Linked DNA regions of Homo sapiens: region 2 is linked to region 1. The links are contacts of gene promoters, found by promoter capture Hi-C in blood cells and fetal thymus (Javierre and others, 2016). All regions are on one chromosome and are shown on one strand. The core of a region is centred on a gene start or on the middle of the fragment in contact, and the rest is flanking DNA. Distances in the headings are between cores, read along the strand shown. Region 1 holds the start of PRMT3 (protein arginine methyltransferase 3). Region 2 holds the start of DCDC1 (doublecortin domain containing 1).

What was found. The method cuts DNA at HindIII sites, captures the fragments that hold promoters and counts their contacts. A CHiCAGO score of 5 or more calls a contact.
Region 2: a fragment that was not itself captured here is called in contact with the fragment with the promoter of PRMT3 in region 1 in 1 of 17 cell types (activated CD4 T cells); the score reaches 5.5 in activated CD4 T cells.

What each region holds. Positions count from the first base shown.
Region 1 is chr11:20,385,236-20,390,305 of GRCh38, forward strand. PRMT3 (protein arginine methyltransferase 3) reads left to right here and starts at 2,481. Exons shown (of 16, transcript NM_005788.4): 1 at 2,481-2,539; 2 at 2,784-2,919; 3 at 4,509-4,591. The coding sequence starts at 2,512. RefSeq lists enhancers at 1-309, 2,189-2,358, 2,232-2,839, 2,840-3,446, 3,302-3,351 and a silencer at 2,192-2,751. The HindIII fragment of the contact is 3,061 bases long and covers 67-3,127 here.
Region 2 is chr11:31,365,533-31,370,602 of GRCh38, forward strand. It overlaps DCDC1 (doublecortin domain containing 1), which reads right to left and starts at 4,207. Exons shown (of 39, transcript NM_001387274.1): 1 at 4,165-4,207. DNAJC24 (DnaJ heat shock protein family (Hsp40) member C24) reads left to right here and starts at 4,328. Exons shown (of 5, transcript NM_181706.5): 1 at 4,328-4,380. RefSeq lists an enhancer at 4,141-4,620. The HindIII fragment of the contact is 497 bases long and covers 3,526-4,022 here.

The DNA.
Region 1 (5,070 bases), core at 1,231-3,730:
CCATGAACGATGACTCCAACTCAAGAGAGCCAGCAGCTATTCTGGCAATGTCCTAGGATGTAAGAAAGCTTCAAAATTAATATTTGGGCCGGGTGCGGTCAATCACGCCTGTAATCTCAGGACTTTGGGAAGCCGAGGTGGGCAGATCACTTGAGGTCAGGAGTTCAAGACCAGTCTGACCAACATGGTGAAACCCTGTCACTACTAAAAATATAAAAATTAGCCAGGCATGGTGGTGAGCACCTATAATCCCAGCTACTTGGGAGGCTGAGGCAGGAGAATCGCTTGAACCTGGGAGGTGGAGGTTGCAGTGGGACAAGATCGCACCACTGCACTCCAGCCTGGGCAACCGAGCGAGACTCTGTCTCAAAGAAAAACAAAAACAAAAACTAATATTTAATGGATTCTGTCCTCTAGGAATTTACAATTAAGGGAGAAAAGTACATTTAGAAGTACATTTAGCAATAATATAAGGCATCATTTTTATTCAGTGAATACATTCAGTATCTATTAATACTATGGGCCAGGCCACATATTATGTGCCAGAGAAATGAAAGTAAAGAGACATGGCCCTTACTTACCCTTATTGTTCAGTGCTGTGGGGTATCACCAAAAAAGAAAAAAAAATCAAGTAAGCAAATGGTGGGTGCTAAGAAACTAACAGGATACTCCTGAAATAATGGTGGAAACTATTTTAGAAATGGCCTGAGGAAAGTGTTTCTGGTTGAGACCAAAGGGACCTACCCATGTGTAGAACATTCAATGATTAGCAGTAAATAAAAGGCTTAAGGGTGGGACCCAAGGTGAAGGGTTCCATTGGAAAGAGGCAGGATTATGCAGGGCCTGATAGGCCAATTAGATAAACTCTGCTAGAGCCTGGGGCACTCCCTCCTAAGCAAGAATTCTGGGCCGGGCGGTGGCTCGCGGGCAGGTGGATCACCTGAGGTCGGGAGTTCCAGACCAGCCTGACCAACATGGAGAAACCCTGTCTCTACTAAAAATCCAAAATCAGCCGGACGTGGTGGCGCATGCCTGTAATCCCAACTACTCGGGAGGCTGAGGCAAGAGAATCGCTTGAACCCGGAAGGTGGAGGTTGCGGTGAGCCTGAGATCGTGCCATTGCACTCCAGCCTGGGCAACAAGAGCGAAACTCCGTCTCAAAAATCAAACAAAAAAAAGTTCTATGGTTTGAAGAGATATAAGGAAAGGAAGAAAGGGACGTGGCATGAGGCAGGCAGGGGAACATTTGTGTTCTTCCCCACACAGCAGCCAGATTGTTACTTTCTCAACACATCTGAGAGCATCACTCCCTGGCTTAAATAGTTATGTCTGAGCACTTTACATGTATTAACTCGTTTTATCCTTACTGTAGTTCTGAAGTTAGTCCAGGTTTTTTGTTTTTTGTTTTTTTTTTTTTAAGATGGAGTCTTGCTCTGTTGCCCAGGCTGGAGTACGGTGGCACAATCTCGGCTCACCACAAGCTCCGCCTCCCGGGCTCAAGCAATTCTCCTGCCTCAGCCTCCCAAGTAGCTGGGATTGCAGGCGCGTGCCACCACACCTGGTTAATTTTTGTATTTTTAGTAGGGACAGGGTTTCACCATGTTGGCCAGGCTGGTCTCCAACTCCTGACCTCAGGTGATCCGCCCGCCTCAGCCTCCCAAAGTGCTGGTACTATAGACGTGAGCCACCGTGCCCTGCCCAAGTGCAGTTATTATCCTTGTTTTGTATTTGATGAAACTGAGGCAGAGAGAGGTCGAGTAACTTGCCCAAGATCACAGTTACAAAGTGACGTGGGTAGGATTCAAACCCAGCAGGCTGCCTCTAGAGTTCACGTTCTCACTTAACCAAAGATTAAAATCCGTCTTGGGGGGTTTGACACCTATCTGTCCCTGCAGTAGACCCACCCTGGCCCATGCAGTTCGTTCCCTCTCGCCAGCTGCACCCCCTCCAGGACCTGGGAGCCCAGAAACCAGCCGAGCCTCCAGCGTTTGGCCTCCTCCGCCACCAGAGGGCGTCATGGGCCGATCGCCCCTCCGCTAACCGCTCATCCCAGGAAAAAGGGGCGCACAGAGGACAGGATGCCAACCCCAAAACCGCAGCGACGTCTCTCTGCCTTGGGGCTCACAGCAGCGGGCCGCGACCTCCCACTAACGCCTGCCGCAACCCAAGGAGGAGACAAAAGTCATCTTCCGGGCTGCAACATTAACCGTCATCAGCGCGCCTCTTCAGCGCGCACTGCGCCAACCCTGCGGCAGGAGGAGGCGGAGCCCCCGCTCTCGCCCCGCCCCCACCTCACGTGACCCGCACGGCGCCTCGAGGCCGGAAGCGATTGCGAGCCAGCGCGCGCGCTTCGGCGTTCCCGGCGGTCTGCGAAGTTTCCGGAGCCCGGGTCCCGCCGCGGGTTCGCGCTTGTGCTCGCGCTCGTTCCTGGAGTCGGCGGCCGCTGCGCGCGCTCGTTGCCCAACCCGGTCCCCGCCCCCAGACACGCCGGGCTCTCGGGGCACCACAGCCATGTGCTCGTTAGCGTCAGGCGCTACCGGTGGGTACCCTGGCCCCTCAGCACCCGGCTCGTCCAGCCCCAGGCCGCGCCGCTGTGGGGCCGGTGGAAGACCCTCCGGGACACGGGCCCGGGCAGGGTGGGGGGCTCGCAGGGATCATGAAGGAGGTGCTGAGTGAGGGCCGCGGGCGAACGGGGCGGAGGAGAGCCCATCGTCACCTGCTCCTCGAGCCCCCGGGCCGCACCGGTGTCCGAGGCCGATCTGATTGTTGTGTGTGTGTGTTAGGCGGCCGGGGCGCTGTGGAGAATGAGGAGGACCTGCCAGAACTGTCGGACAGCGGGGACGAGGCCGCCTGGGAGGATGAGGACGATGCAGATCTCCCCCACGGCAAGCAGCAGACCCCCTGCCTGTTCTGTAACAGGTTCGTCCGCCTCAGCGCCTGGCCTCTGCCCTAGGGTGCCCGGGCGCGTGGGGTCTGTGTGCCCAGGAACGCCTTCGGGCGGGAGGCAAGCCAGAGTGGCCTGTCTTTGAATTCTGGAACCACTGGTCTGGGGTGAGGGCTTGTGGAGAAGGAGGACCCTCGGTAGTAGAGAGGGGGAACCGTGAACTGGAAGGCCGGTTGTACTGCAAGCTTTTGACTGGTAGTGCATTGAATCTGTGGTTCCCAAATCTTGTCACTTGAGACGCTGAAAACAAAATGATACTGAACTCTGCACCTGAATCCTTCCAAGTCAGGGATGGGGTCTAAGAATATTCTGTTTTTATGAGGACAAGATCGGAAGTAACAGTGAAGTTACTAACGAGTTACTACTAACGAGTAACATATTTGGCAGCCACCCTGAACTAGATAATCCCTACGGAGCCTTCCGGCTTTACCATGCTAATTCTTTGACCAGTACAGAGCTTCTCAGGTGAAACATTTCTTTTTTATTTGAGCGGTTTCCATAGTCTAAGAAGGAAGTTCACCTTACTTAAGTAGGACTTTTCACTTAAGGAAAAAGACTGTAGTATCAATAATTTGCTCAAGGTCACAAAGCTGTGGTGTGCTTATTTCCAAACTCACATTCTTGCCACTTAAAATTCTGCCTGTTAGTCTTGGGAAGCTTTGGCTCCTGTCCTAGGCAAGTAGGCATGAAAGAGGCCCGGTTGGCATTGGCCGGTGTTACTTTAATACATTTTCCAGTGTTCCCTGTATCTGGGCATGGTGCTGAGTGGTGGTGCGTTAGTGTTCTCATCTGTAGCCCCATTGGGTAGATAGAATGCCTGTATATATTCTAGTTGTCATAAAATATTTATTGAGCACCAGTGGTACCGTGGCTGTGATAGCCTCCATAAATAGTCGACATAACCTATCTCGGTAAACATTTGTGGAAAACTAATGCTCCACATGTGTTAGGAATATAGATAAGGTATACAGCTTCTCTGCTGTGTATTCCTGTCTTTAAGTAGCCTTCAGATTTGCATGTCACATAATAAAGAGGATTGATCCTCACAGTGTCTGTGATGCAAGTACGTTGGGAATACTACAAGATCACTTTTGAAATAAGGCACTTGGGGAGTATGCCAGCTGTAAAATTACATTTTATGCTTTATTTCTAAAAGCAGTTTGAGCTGTGCCAGTTCAAAGCCTCTGAAAGCAGAGTTGACACTTAGAGGAGAAAAGAATCTCAAGTAGAGAAATTGTATGACTTGAGAGAAACAGACTCTATCAAAGGGAACTCTCTTAAAAGCCTTTTGATAAAATCAGTGATATTATTTGACAAATAAATTCACTTTGACATTTAAAGGATAATTGGTTTTAGGTATAAAATGGGACTCAGAAGTACTAATTCCCTTTAAAAGTGCTGGATTCCCTTCCTTTCAGATACAAGTGTGTTTGTTTTTTCTTAATTGGAAGTAAAACTAGAAACCAGCAGAGTTAAAAAAAAAAAAAAAGTGTATATGTAACATGAAATCAGTATTTAGACTTCTTAGGGGACTATTCCATGAAGCTATTGCTTGATTTTTCAGGTTATTCACATCTGCTGAAGAAACATTTTCACACTGTAAGTCTGAGCATCAGTTTAATATTGACAGCATGGTTCATAAACATGGTGAGTAGTTTTTAGAATAAAGGCAATTTAATTTGTGAAATTTGGGCAGGCATGGCAGCTCACACCTGTAATCCCAGCACTTTGGGAGGCTGAGGTGGGTGGATCACTTTAGGTCGGGAGTTCAAGACCAGCCTGGCCAACATGCTGAAACCCCACCTGTACTAAAATACAAAAGTTATCTGGGTGTGGTGACGCACACCTGTAATAGCAGCTGCTCAGAAGACTGAGGCAGGTGAATTGCTTAAACCTGGGAGGCAGAGGTGGCAGTGAGCTGAGATGGTATCACTGCACTCCAGCCTGGGCAACAGAGTGAGACTCTTCTCAAAAAAAAAAAAAATCTGTGAAATATAAGTTCAGATTTTATAGTTTTTCAGACCCTTTTCTGTACGAGTTTAATATGGCGAATCACACAGCAACATCTTGTGGAAATGGAGTTTTTTTGACAAGCGGTCCTTGAGAAAAGATGAATAAGTCACTCT
Region 2 (5,070 bases), core at 2,524-5,023, about 11 Mb after region 1:
AGATATAGATTTCCATTATTATCCATCAATGAGAAGCACAATTGACTAGTATGACATCAAATTAAGAATTTGTGAATGTCTGGTAGACGTTAGTTTACGGGCAGGCGTGTACCAAAGTGATAGATTTAATAACAATGTCATTTTTTCCTATCATCATGACAAAGGATCTTAAACTCCTGATGTATCTAGCTACATCTATAGCACTTGATCAATCATCTGGGAATCAAATATTTAATATACGCCTACCTTGGTTATGTTAGATGCTGATGACGCAAACTAAAGTTTTGCCTATCCTTTTAATTTATTCTGAAGTCCAACCAAATGTACAGTTCAACAAATATTTGGGTTTGATTTTATTTTTCCAATTCAATTGTTTCTTGCTGTCATTTGCTCTCTTTGGAAATTCCTAAAATACTGTTATGAATGTCCAACATTCTAATATATCAAATGTGCAACAAATATTATTAATTAATAATAACAACAATAGCTAACCTTTACTGAATACTTATTACTTTCAGGCACAACTATCTCATTTAATTCCCACAACAAATCTATGAGGGAAATACTATTATTACTCCCATATTACAGAGGAAGAAACCAAAGCAAAGAGATGAATTAAGTTCACATAGCCGTAAGAGGAAAAGCCTGGACTAAACACATATGTTCTGACTCTAGAGTTCATGCTTTTAACCATGATACTAACATAGTTTATATTTCCACTATGTAAGTTTCACATAAAATGGATAAATTGCCTTTTAAATATAAGATACTGAGAAACAAAACTATTAGAGCTATGTATCATTAGAACTCCAGAGAATGAGGCAAGATAGCTGGTTCTTAGTTTCTCTGGAGAGGTGTTCTTGCTCTCAGAAAGCTTGCAACCCAACTGGGGAATCAGAATATATTCTAAGGAAAACAATATACTGTGATATACAAAGGACTTGCTATGAAAGTTGAGGGGCGGCAGTAAGTTCTAAGGACCAGGCCATCATAAAAGGCTTGATGGAAGAGATAGGCCTTAAAGCAGGGATTACTCTGATAGGAGGAAGAAAAGAATTAGGGTGTTATAAGTAAGGAGAAGCATTTGAACACAATTATTGATGAAATGCTGTTACCAAAACACCAGGAGTTCCATCTATGTCTTGCTGCTTACCACCCAAAAAGTCAATCACTGAGACAATGATTATTGTCAAAGAAGAAGGCTTTAATCAGATGCTGCAGCCAAGGAGATGGGACATCAGTGTCAAATTCACCTTCCTCACTGACTAAAATTAGGGGTTTATATAACAGGGAAGAAATGTTAACTACGTATGAGAAAACAGGAACTAAGGAAGGGTAAGGAAACAATAACGAAGAATGAGGGGTCTGGCATATCACTGTCTAGATGCAGTAATCTGGTGAGTTTCAGCTCTTTGATACTTGTTGAGAGGTCTGGGCATCCTTTCTTGAGGAAGGAACTGAGATAAAGATCAACAAAATGTGGCTGGGCGCAGTGGCGCATGCCTGTAATCTCAGCACTTTGGGAGGCTGAGGCAGGCAGATTGCTTGAGCTCAAGAGTTCCAGACCAGCCTGGCCAACATGGTGAAACTCCATCTCTACAAAAAAAAATACAAACATTAGCCAGGCATAGTGGCATGCACCTGTGGTCCCAACTACTTGGGAATCTGAGGTGGGCAGATGACTTGAGCCTGGGAGGTAGAGGCTGCAGTGAGCTGAGATCATGCCACTGCACTCCAGACTGGACACCAGGGCAAGACTCTGTCTCAAACAAGCAAACAAAAAGATAAAACAAATGCAAGTTTCAAGCTTTCAGAAAAGAAGTGTCCATTTCTATGTTTATTAATTTAAAAAACCCCAATAAACAAAACTAAACAAACAAACAAAACCCTGTCTATGGGACTGTTGGGTTGATTTCAGTACCATGAAAAGATCCAATTGTTTAAATGTTTAATGTATGGAGATAATAGGGGAGGTTGGAAAAGTAAGGATCATATTGAAGAGGTAACTTGAATGCTAGGTTAAGGAGTTAGGACTTTATTCTCTAGACCTGCCCTGCTGGATACAGTAGCCACTAGTCACATGTGGCTACTGAGCATTTGAAATGTGCTAGTTCAAATTGAGGTGTGTTCGGGCACAATACATACCAGCTTTTGAAGACTTAGTAGGAGAAAAGAATGTAAAGTATCGCCTTAATAATTTTTAGATTAATTAATTTTGTAGCTTGCACTTACGGCTTACATTATATTTCTATTGGAAAGTACTGCTCTATAAAATGAAAAATGAAGGAAGCTTAATGATCAGAAATTTATGTAAAAATTGTTTTAAGAAGTTTATTTTGGTATAAGCAGAGTGTAAGACAACTGTTCTCATTCAGTAAGCCAATGGCAAGTAAAGAAAAAAACAAGGTTCTAGTGAAGAAATGGGACTGCTATAATTTAAAAGATATTTAAGAGACAGAACAGCTAAATGGAAAGTGTACATTTTGTCTGATTCTGAGTCAAGCAAACCAACCAGAAAAAGACATTTTCAATTAACCGTGGAAATGTAAGTAAGGTCTAGATATTATGTGACAGTCCAATAATGACATTATGGAGATAAAAGAAAAAGTTGGTACATTTTAGGGATGCAAACTAAAGTATGTAGAGATGAAATGACAAAATATTTGGTATTGCTGGGGAAAAAAACTATTTCTTACTTTCCAAACCCCAATAAATAAATAAGGTAACACAATAACCTAATAAATAGTAAATCAAAATAAAATGCTTTTGCTGTAAAAAACAAAAAACCTGGAGTACCGGAGCATATCTACCTACACAAGGAAGAACCAAGCTGTGGACAGAAGGGAGTTTGAGGGCTAGAGATGTTCAAGGTGGCATCATTCTGACAGTACTGTTTAGAAAAGCATTCACCACACTACTTAATTCCATTGCTTTAGGTATTTTCATGAGGCCACACAAGAAAGTATGATGCAGCCAGGACTAAAACCAGATGCTCTTTGTATCTGCCTTTAAACATGACAAAACCCTGTGGAGAACCTAATCTATGCTTTCATCTTTAGATTTTTAAACTTGCTTGTTTCATTCAGTTATTCTTTATAGTTCATAACATCATTAAATAACTGATCATATTAGATTATTTTATTTATTCTGCTTAAGTTTATCTTGACTGCTTCTCAAACTCAGATTGGTAGAAGTTTAAAAAAGAAGGAAAGCAAAATCAAAGCAGTAACAACAAAACCATTTTAACATCTCCAAGTGAAATTTATGTCATGCTGGCCAAAAATAAGATGTAGTTTTCATCTCCAGGTACAATGCTAGGAAGAGGTGTTAATGTAAAGTAAGCAGCACAAAGAAGTAATAAAAGGAAACACAGGAATCAAGAAAGGGAGAAGAAAGAAAGGTGAGAAAAACACCACCACCACCACCACCACCACCACCAGCAACAATAACAAACCCCAACAGTGCCCATATGCAGTGCCCCCTAACTGCTTCGAAGAAGAACAGTTCATTCTGCTTTTTTCTGTAAGCTTGAAAGATAGCATAGCTGCCCTGGGAATGTGTAGACTTGCTGAGTCCTTGTTCTGCCCCTACCCAACTAGCTGTTTGGCCTTGATCCTTGATTTCTTTCCTCATCTATAAAGTGGGAATAATGGCACCTGCCTTACTTGTCTCACTGGGTTGAAATGAAAGCGAAGTGAAATAGCAAATGTGAAAGAATTTTGGAACGTTTTTATGTTGTAAGTTGGTTGCTAAGGTCTAAAAGAAATATTAATAATTACGTCGAATATCTTCTGCAGAAAAAATTAAACCGACCCCATCCCCCGCACATCTAGCCCTACCTGGCATAGGTTTTAGTTCTTTTAATTTTCGAATTAGAACATTGTAAAGGAACTGTAGGGACGAGAGTGGCATCAGGTCTCCTCATCCTTCTCACATCCTTGCCCCCGCACCCCTCTCTCACCCCAGAGTTCAAGCACCAACCGAAAAGATTGAGAGTAGCTCAGGGTACGGTAAACGGAGGAAGCTTTGAAAAAGGCGGGGAAAGCCTGGGATGGCGAGGGGGTGCTCGCTGAGGAGGAGGAGAGAAGCGACAGTCGCGGGGCCCGGAAAAGAGAGACTTAGAGCGAAGCCAAAGGCGCCTTTCTTCACAGTTTGGGAACTTACTGGTAGTAAACGCCACTCCATAGAAGCGGTGACCGGTTACCATAGAGACCGCGTCGGGGTGGGCGGAGCGTCGCTTCTGAGCTGTGCCACGGCCACATCAGCTCGGCCAGAAACGCGAACACGTCGGAACAGTGACTTCCGGCGGAAGAAGAAGCCGGTCCGGAGTTCTGGCCGACAGCAGGCGAGGAGTGGGTAGCAGCGCCTATGTGAAGTTAGGTAGGTCTGATGTCGTATAAAGCGCGGAGAGGGTGCCCGCCAATGGCTGGGTGGGTAAAGCCGACTGTGAATGGAGAAGATTCCCAAGTCCCGAGCTTGAGGAGGCCCCGGCTGTTTCGTTAAGTGTATATAGCTGTGGGAAGAGGTTGCCTGATTTCTGGGGCTCCTGGTAGGGTCTCTCTTCTGGAGCGTGGAAGACTGGGGCATCCTCGCGTAGAGAGTTTCACTCTGTCTTTGCGAGGTCTCAGCGCCTCTCCAATAACAGGGGACTCTTGTTCTCTACCAGCTGGTGCTGACGTTATTTCCCATATCATGCTCTCCAGACAATCTGGAGGAAAAGCAAACGAGAAACTTTCAGAAGGAATGCCCCCAAATTTATTTTAATTCTTTGATGTTCTGTTTTGCTTTTTTTTTATTCGTTCATTTTGTAAATATTCATTAAGCTCCTCCAGCGTGTTTAGTGGGTGCTTACTTGTGTGCCAGTTTTATCATAAGACTAGCAGAAATACCTTCTTAGAGGTTCATACACCACCTGGTTCATTATAAAATTCTTTTTTTTAATGCTGTTCATTAATTAAAGTATAAATATATATCGTGAAATACCTAACACGTTTTCCATACTTGTCGGTACACTTATACCTGGAATTCTTGGGGCATTTTAAATGAAAATCTGTGCTTCCTCAGGTTTGC